Regions from separate parts of the Homo sapiens genome. Here region 1 is linked to region 2. Evidence: promoter capture Hi-C in human tissues and cell types (Jung and others, 2019). All regions are on one chromosome and are shown on one strand. The core of a region is centred on a gene start or on the middle of the fragment in contact, and the rest is flanking DNA. Distances in the headings are between cores, read along the strand shown. Region 1 overlaps ZNF845 (zinc finger protein 845). Region 2 holds the start of DPRX (divergent-paired related homeobox).

Region 1 (3,871 bases), core at 748-3,247, 280 kb before region 2:
CTTCATACTGGAGAGAAACCTTACAAGTGTAATGAGTGTGGCAAGACCTTCGGTCGAAATTCAGCCCTTATAATTCACAAGGCAATTCATACTGGAGAGAAACCTTACAAGTGTAATGAGTGTGGCAAGGCCTTCAGTCAGAAGTCATCCCTTACATGCCATCTTAGACTTCATACTGGAGAGAAACCTTACAAATGTGAAGAATGTGACAAAGTTTTCAGTCGCAAATCAAGCCTTGAAAAACACAGGAGAATTCATACTGGAGAGAAACCATACAAATGTAAGGTTTGTGACAAAGCTTTTGGGCGTGATTCACACCTGGCACAACATACTAGAATTCACACTGGAGAGAAACCTTACAAGTGTAATGAATGTGGCAAGAACTTCCGTCACAATTCAGCCCTTGTAATTCATAAGGCAATTCATAGTGGAGAGAAACCTTACAAGTGTAATGAGTGTGGCAAGACCTTCCGTCACAATTCAGCCCTTGAAATTCATAAGGCAATTCATACTGGAGAAAAACCTTACAAGTGTAGTGAATGTGGCAAGGTTTTTAATAGAAAAGCAAACCTTTCACGTCATCATAGACTTCATACTGGAGAGAAACCTTACAAGTGTAATAAATGTGGTAAGGTTTTTAATCAACAAGCACACCTTGCATGTCATCATAGAATTCATACTGGAGAGAAACCTTACAAGTGTAATGAGTGTGGCAAAACCTTCCGTCACAATTCAGTCCTTGTAATTCATAAGACAATTCATACTGGAGAGAAACCTTACAAGTGTAATGAATGTGGCAAGGTTTTTAATCGAAAAGCAAAACTTGCACGTCATCATAGAATTCATACTGGAAAGAAACATTAGAAATATGAAGAATGTGACAAAGTTTACAGTTGTAAATCAAGTCTTGAAAGACAGGAGAATTCATACTGGAGAGAAAGCTTACAAATGTAAGAGTTTGTGACAAGAATCTTGGGCGTGATTCACACCTGGCCCAACAAACTAGAAGTCACACTGGAGAGAAACCTTACAAGTGTACTGAGTGTGGCAAAGCCTTTAGTGGGCAGTCAACACTTATTCACCATCAGGCAATCCATGGTATAGGGAAACTTTACTAATGTAATGATTATCACAAAGTCTTCAGTAACACTACAACCGTTTCAAATCATTGGAGAATCCATAATGAGAGATTTTGAAAGTGTAATAAATGTGGCAAATTTTTCAGACATTGTTCATACCTTGCAGTTCATCGGTGAACTCATGCTGGAGAGAAACCTTACAAATGTCATGATTGTGGCAAGGTCTTCAGTCTAGCTTCATCTTATGCAAAACAGGAGACTTCATACAGGAGACAAACTTCACAAGTATGATGATTGCAGCAAAGCCTTTACTTCACGTTCACACCTAATTAGACATCAGAGAATCCATACTGGACAGAAATCTTACAAATGTCATCAGTGTGGCAAGGTCTTCAGTCTGAGATCACCCCTTAAGGAACATCAGAAAATTCATTTTTGAGATGATTGTTCCAAATGCAATGAGTATAGCAAACCATCAAGCATTAATTGGCATTAGAGTCAATTCAGCATTGACTTGAGTTTGAATTGACTTAACATTGAGTTCAAGCATTAATTGACATTAAAGTGTTTATGTTAAGAAGATTGGGCCAGGCGGGGTGGCTCACGCCTGTAATCCCAGCACTTTGGGAGGCCAAGACCAATAGATCACTTGAGGTCAGGAGTTTGAGACCAGACTGGCCAACAGACATGAGTCACTTTTCCCACCCTGTATTTTGTTTCTTTAATAAAAACTGTTACGGGTTTTTATGGGTATCTGTTGAATCTAAATCACATTTGTTTGTATAATCATTCAACAATATTAAGACTTCCAATCCATCAATATGGGTTGTATGTCTATTTAGTTTTTTTGATCAATGTAGATTTCAAGGTACAAGCTTCTCACCTCCTTAATTCAGTTTATTTGTAAGTATTAAGTTTCATAGCAAATTGAAGTGTGTTCATAAGTTTCTTTAAACATTATTTATTGTTAATGTAAGGAAATTCAACTAATTTTGGGTGCTGATTTTGTATTCTGCAAATACATTGAGTGGGTTTATTAGTATCAGTAAAATCTTGGTTGATTCTTTGTGATTTTCTTTCTTTTTTTTTTGAGACAGTCTCACTCTGTTACCCAGGCTCTTTTCTTTTTTTTTGAGAAGGAGTCTCACTCTTGTCACTTGGACTGGAGTACAATGGCACGATCTTGGCTCACTGCAGCCTCTGCCTTTCGGGTTTAAGTGATTCTCCTGCCTACTAACTGAGATTACAGGTGCCTGCCACCATGTCCGTATAATTTTTTTGTATTTTTAGTAGAGACGGGGTTTCACCATGTTGACCAGGTTTTTCTTGAACTCCTGACTTCAGGTGATCCGCCCCCATCAGCATCCCAAAGTTCTGGGATTACAGGTGTGAGCCACCGCACCCAGCCAGTGATTTTCTATATAGAATGTCGTATCATCTACAAGGAAATAATTTTTTTTTTTGAGACAATGTCTCTCTCTGTCGCCAGGCTAGAGTGCCGTGGAATGATCTTTGCTCACTGCAACCTCTGTCTCCCACGTCCAAGCAATTCTGTCTCAGCCTCCTGAGTAGCTGGGACTACAGGCGCATGTCACCACACCTAGCTAATTTATTTATTTTTTTTATTTTAGTAAAGACGGGGTTTCACCATGTTGGCCCAGATGGTGGGCCAACATGGTGAGTACCTTGAAGAGAACTTGAAAGAATATGTTAGATCGCCTAACCTCATTATCCGCCCACTTCGGACTTGCAAATTGCTGGGATTATGGGTGTGAGCCATGAGCCCGGCCCCAACAAATGTAATTTTACTTCTGTCTTTCTGATTTGGATGAGTTTTATTTCTTTTGCTATTTAATTGCTCTGCCTAGGACAGCCAGTATTTATTGAATATCAGGGGTGAGAGCATTCTTGCATCATGTGATATCCTACAGGAAAACCATTCCATTTTCCTTCATTGGTTATTTCAGCTGTGGTCATTTCATGGATGATTTTTATATTTTTGAGGTAAAACTCTACCTATATTGTTTAGGATTTTTACGAAGAATGAATATTGAGTTCTGTGAAATGCTTTTTCTCTATCTATTGAGATAATGTGTTTTTTATCTGTCATTCTGTGCAAGTGTGTATCCCATTGATTTGAGTATGTTGAACCATCCTTGCATCCCATGAATAGGTAGCACTTGGATGTTTACAATCCCTTTTTATATCCTCTTGAATACAGTTTGCTAGTATAAGGGTCTTCAAGAAGTTCATGGAAAAATACATATTATGAAAAATTTGTGCATAAATTTCACACTTTTTGTACCAAAATAAACCAGTATAAACTTGTTATAACGTCTGAACAGGCTCTAGTTTGAGGCACTCAGAAGGATAAGACATCAGTTTGAAAAGAACCTCTATCACAGCAATACAAATTCTGTTAAAACAAGAAGAAACATCAAATTTACGATGAGACCAGACGCAGTGGCTCAGGCCTGTAATCCCAGCGGTTTTAGAGGCCCAGGCAGGTGGGTGACGTGAGCCTAGGGATTCAAGACCAGCCTGGGCGACATAGGGGACCTCTTCTCTGCTAAAAGTAAAAAAAGTCAGCCAGGTGTGGTGGTGCACTGCTGTGGTCCCAGCTACTCTGGGCACTGAAGTGGGAGGATCAGTTGAAGCAGGGATTTTGAGGCTGAAGTGAGCCCTGATCTCACCACTGCACTCCAGCCTGGGTGACAGAGCTAGACCCTGTCTCAAACAAGCAAATAAATGAGAGGCATAATTCCTCCTTTGAGAATAAAGGAAAAGATTTC
Region 2 (3,917 bases), core at 456-2,955:
GCCTCTTACTAATCCCAGCACTTTGGGAGGCTGAGGTGGGAGGATGGCTTGTGCCTAAGACTTTGAGACTAGCCTAGCCAAAATCCCTTCTCTACAAAAAATGCAAAAATTAGCTGGGTATGGTAGTGTGCACCTGTAGTCCCAGTTACTCAGGAGGCTTAGGTGAGAGGCTCACCTAGGCCCAGGAGGTTAAGGCTGCATTGAGCTATGATTTTGCCACTGCACTCCAGGCTGGGCCTAGGCCTTTGTAGTCACAGCTACTTGGGGGCAAATGTAGGAGGATCACTTGAGCCCAGTAGGTCGAGGCTGCAGTCAGCTGTGTTTTTTGAGACATAGCAAGACCCTGTCTCAAAAAGAAAAAAAAAAGTAGCTACAAGCTCATTTATGCAAAGGCTAACCACTGTCACAAGTAGAGATGTGCAGAACTGAGATTCAAATGGATGGAATGGCAAGAAAAACTGCCACTTCTGTGAACCTGAAGTCAAACTGCCCTTGTCGTCAAGATAAAAGGTATACATGGTGTGAGCCTGGGCATCTGAAAGGTGTTGCAGCTTTTTCTTTTATTTTTTTGAGATGGAGTCTCACTCCTGTCACCCAGGCTGGAGTGCAGTGGTGCGATCTCAGCTCACTGCAACCTCTGCCTCCTGGGTTCAAGCAATTCTCCTGCCTCAGCCTCCTGAGTAGCTGGGATTACAGGTGCCCACCACCACACCCAGCTAATTTTCGTATTTTTAGTAGAGATGGGGTTTCGCCATGTTGGCCAGGCTGGTCTCGAACTCCTGACCTCAGGTGATCCGCCTGCCTCAGCCTCCCAAAGTGCTGGGATTACAGGTGTGAGCCACCTGTAATTAGCCAGGCTTGGTGGTGGGTGCCTGTAATCCCAGCTACTGGGAAGGCTGAGGCAGGAGAATTGCTTGAACCTGAGAGGCGGAGGTTGCTGTGAGCCGAGATCGTGCCACTGCACTCCAGCCTGGGTGACAGAGTGAGACTCCATCTCTAAATAAATAAATAAATAAATAAAATGAGATGATTTCTGAGTGAGTTAACTAAATCAGGATATGCAGAACAATGCCAAGCATATATTAGCCACTAAAGAATATATAAGTTGCCTGAAAGCCCCTTTAGGGTTTAAACCTGGACTTCATTATTCACAATCACATTCCCGGTCCCCATTACGGAGCCTGGTCACCTGGGTGCTTGTTAGATATGGAAATCATCAGATCCCACCCCAGACCGAGTCAGAAACGTTGAGGGCAGGAGTTCAAGACCAGCCTGGCCAACATGGCGGAAACTCCGTCTCTACTAAAAATACAAAAATTAGTCAGGAGTGGTGGCACAGGCCTGTGATCTCAGCTACTCGGGAGGCTGAGACATGAGAATCCCTTGAACCTGGGAGGCAGAGGCTGCAGTGAGCCAAGATGGTGTCATTGCGCTCCAGCCTGGGTGACAGAGTGGGACTCTGTCTCAAAGAAAAAGAAAAAAAGAAAAGAAATTGCAGCTTCTGCTCAGGAAGTCTGGAGTGGGCCAGGATTCTGCATTTTAACAACTCCCAGGAGTGTTAGTGGGGCTGGTTTGTGGACTCGCCTTTGAGTCGTTGGTCTCCGCTCAATCAATATTAGATAAAATGACAGTATTGGGAGAAATCCAGGGGGCTCTGGAGGACCGAGGGATCATATTGGAGGCAGATAGGGCAGAGAAAGGTGGAGGAGGTGGGAGTCGGGTGTGGCTGTGGAGGAAGCTACTTAAATCCGGATTTGATCTTTGCTAGTTCTTATCCCTGGACCTGAACCCAGGCGCACATCTGGATTAGAAGATGCCAGGCTCAGAGGATCTTCGTAAAGGTAAGCCAGAAAAAATGAGAACCGAAGCAAAGACACGTGAAGAAGTGGAAAGCAGCTGGCGGCGGGAAAAGGCAGAGGGACCAGGCGGCCGAAGCTGGTGCTTCGTCCACGTGGGTGGCAGGGACTTCCCACAGAGGCTGTCATCGTTTTTGTTGTTGTTGTTTTGTTTTGTTTTGTTTGTCTTTTGAGACAGTCTCACTCTGTCGCTCAGGCTGGAGTGCAGTGGCACGATTTCGGCTCACTGCAACCTCCACCTCCCAGGTTCAAGCAATTCTCCTGCCTCAGCCTCCCGAGTAGCTGGGATGACAGGCACACGCCACCACACCTGGCTAATTTTTTTTTTTTTTGTATTTTTAGTAGAGCCGGGGGTTTCACCATATTGACCAGGCTGGTCTCGAACTCCTGACCTTGTGATCCGTCTGGCTCAGCCTCCCAAAGTGCTGGGGTGACAGGCGTGAGCCACTGCACCCGGCCCAAGTTTTGTATCTTTATAGAGATGGGGTTTCACCATGTTAGCTAGGTTGGTCTCAAGCCCCTGACCTCATGTGATTGGCTGGCCTCGGCCTCCCAAAGTGCTGGGATTACAGGCATGAGCCTCGGTGCCCGGCCGCGGCTGTCATCTGACAGCACAGGCAAATGCAGGGAAGCCTGTTTCTGCCTTCAAATCCGAAATCTTCTCCCTCGTAGTTGTGTCCTAATTCTTCCCACCCCGATGCTTGTTCTTGAGCACAGGGGAATCTGATTCCTATGAGGATGATTAGGTCCTAGATAGAATATAGGCTTAGCCAAGCTGGAAATCTCATGTTCATGAGCACTTACTAGACTCTGGAGCTGCTGCCAAACCATTTTCAGGCATGATGCGATTCAGATCTTTTAGAGCGAGGCATGCGGTGGCTCATGCCTGTAATCCCAGCACTTTGGGAGGCCGAGGTGGGCAGATCGCTTCAGCCCAGGAGTTCAAGACCAGCCTGGGCAACAAAACAAGACGTTGTCTCTACAAAAAATACAAAAATTAGCCGGGCATGTCAGTGTTGTGTAGTTCCAGCTACTCGGGAGGCTGAGGTGAGAGGATCGCTTGAGCCTGGGGAGGTTGAGGCTGAAGTGAGCTGTGATCATGCCACTGGGCAACACAGCAGTACACTGTCTCAAGAAAAAGAAAGTAAAAGGTGACATCCGTGACAGCAGTGATGTTATTTTTCTGCTTATTTCCTTGCTATATTCCTAAAAGAATATACTTAATGAACATTGAATAAATGATAAGAATAAAACCATGTCCATCCATTTCACCTTGGATTGAGTTGCCTATTTCTACACAAAGAAAATAGAACCCAAGAGGTAAGGCACAAGCGATCCCTTATTTACGTATTTATTTATTTATTTATTTATTATTTTCTTGAGACAGGGTCTCCCTCTGTCTCAGGCTGGAGTGCAGTGGCATAATCTCGGCTCACCACAGCCTCTGCCTCTGAGGTTCAAGCGATTCTCCTGCCTCAGCCTCCCGAGTAGCTGGGACTACAGGCGTGCACCATCACGCCCAGCTAATTTTTGTACTTTTAGTAGAGACAGGGTTTCACCATGTTAGCCAGAATGGTCTTGATCTCTTGACCTCATGATCCGCCCGCCTTGGCCTCCCAAAGTGCTGGGATTACAGGCATGAGCCACTGTGCCCGGCCAAATTTTTGTGTTTTTAATAGAGATGGGGTTTCACCATGCTGGCCAGGCTGGTCTCAAACTCATGACCTGATATGATCTGCCCGCCCTGGCCTCCCAAAGTGCTGGGATTACAGGCGTGAGCAAGGGATCCCATATTTAAATGATAACAGAAAAAAAGGATGGAGGAACCAAGGGGGAAAGGAACAACCTTTTCCTATGAAAATGACAAATGAGGCTTGGAAAAACAAGGACAAAAGGCAGATCAAGTTGTCCTCCCGCTTCAGCCTCCCACAGTACTGGGACTGCAGCCTGAGGCACGACCCCGGCCAGCAGTGTCTCCATATCTAAGAACCTCAGTCACGGCCGGGCACAGTGGCTCACGCATGTAATCCCAACACTTTGGGAGGCCGAGGCGGGTGGATC

The links. The method cuts DNA at HindIII sites, captures the fragments that hold promoters and counts their contacts. A contact is called where the count stands out against the background at its distance.
Region 1: a fragment that was not itself captured here is called in contact with the fragment with the promoter of DPRX in region 2 in 2 of the 25 tissues and cell types used here (liver and thymus).

What each region holds. Positions count from the first base shown.
Region 1 is chr19:53,352,725-53,356,595 of GRCh38, forward strand. It overlaps ZNF845 (zinc finger protein 845), which reads left to right. Exons shown (of 4, transcript NM_138374.3): 4 at 1-3,871. The coding sequence ends at 864. It also overlaps the pseudogene LOC107987264. Among named protein-coding and RNA genes, the nearest start is that of ZNF525, 11 kb to the right of the region's middle. The HindIII fragment of the contact is 6,579 bases long and covers 1-3,871 here.
Region 2 is chr19:53,630,294-53,634,210 of GRCh38, forward strand. DPRX (divergent-paired related homeobox) reads left to right here and starts at 1,706. Exons shown (of 3, transcript NM_001012728.2): 1 at 1,706-1,841. The coding sequence starts at 1,814. The HindIII fragment of the contact is 20,441 bases long and covers 1-3,917 here.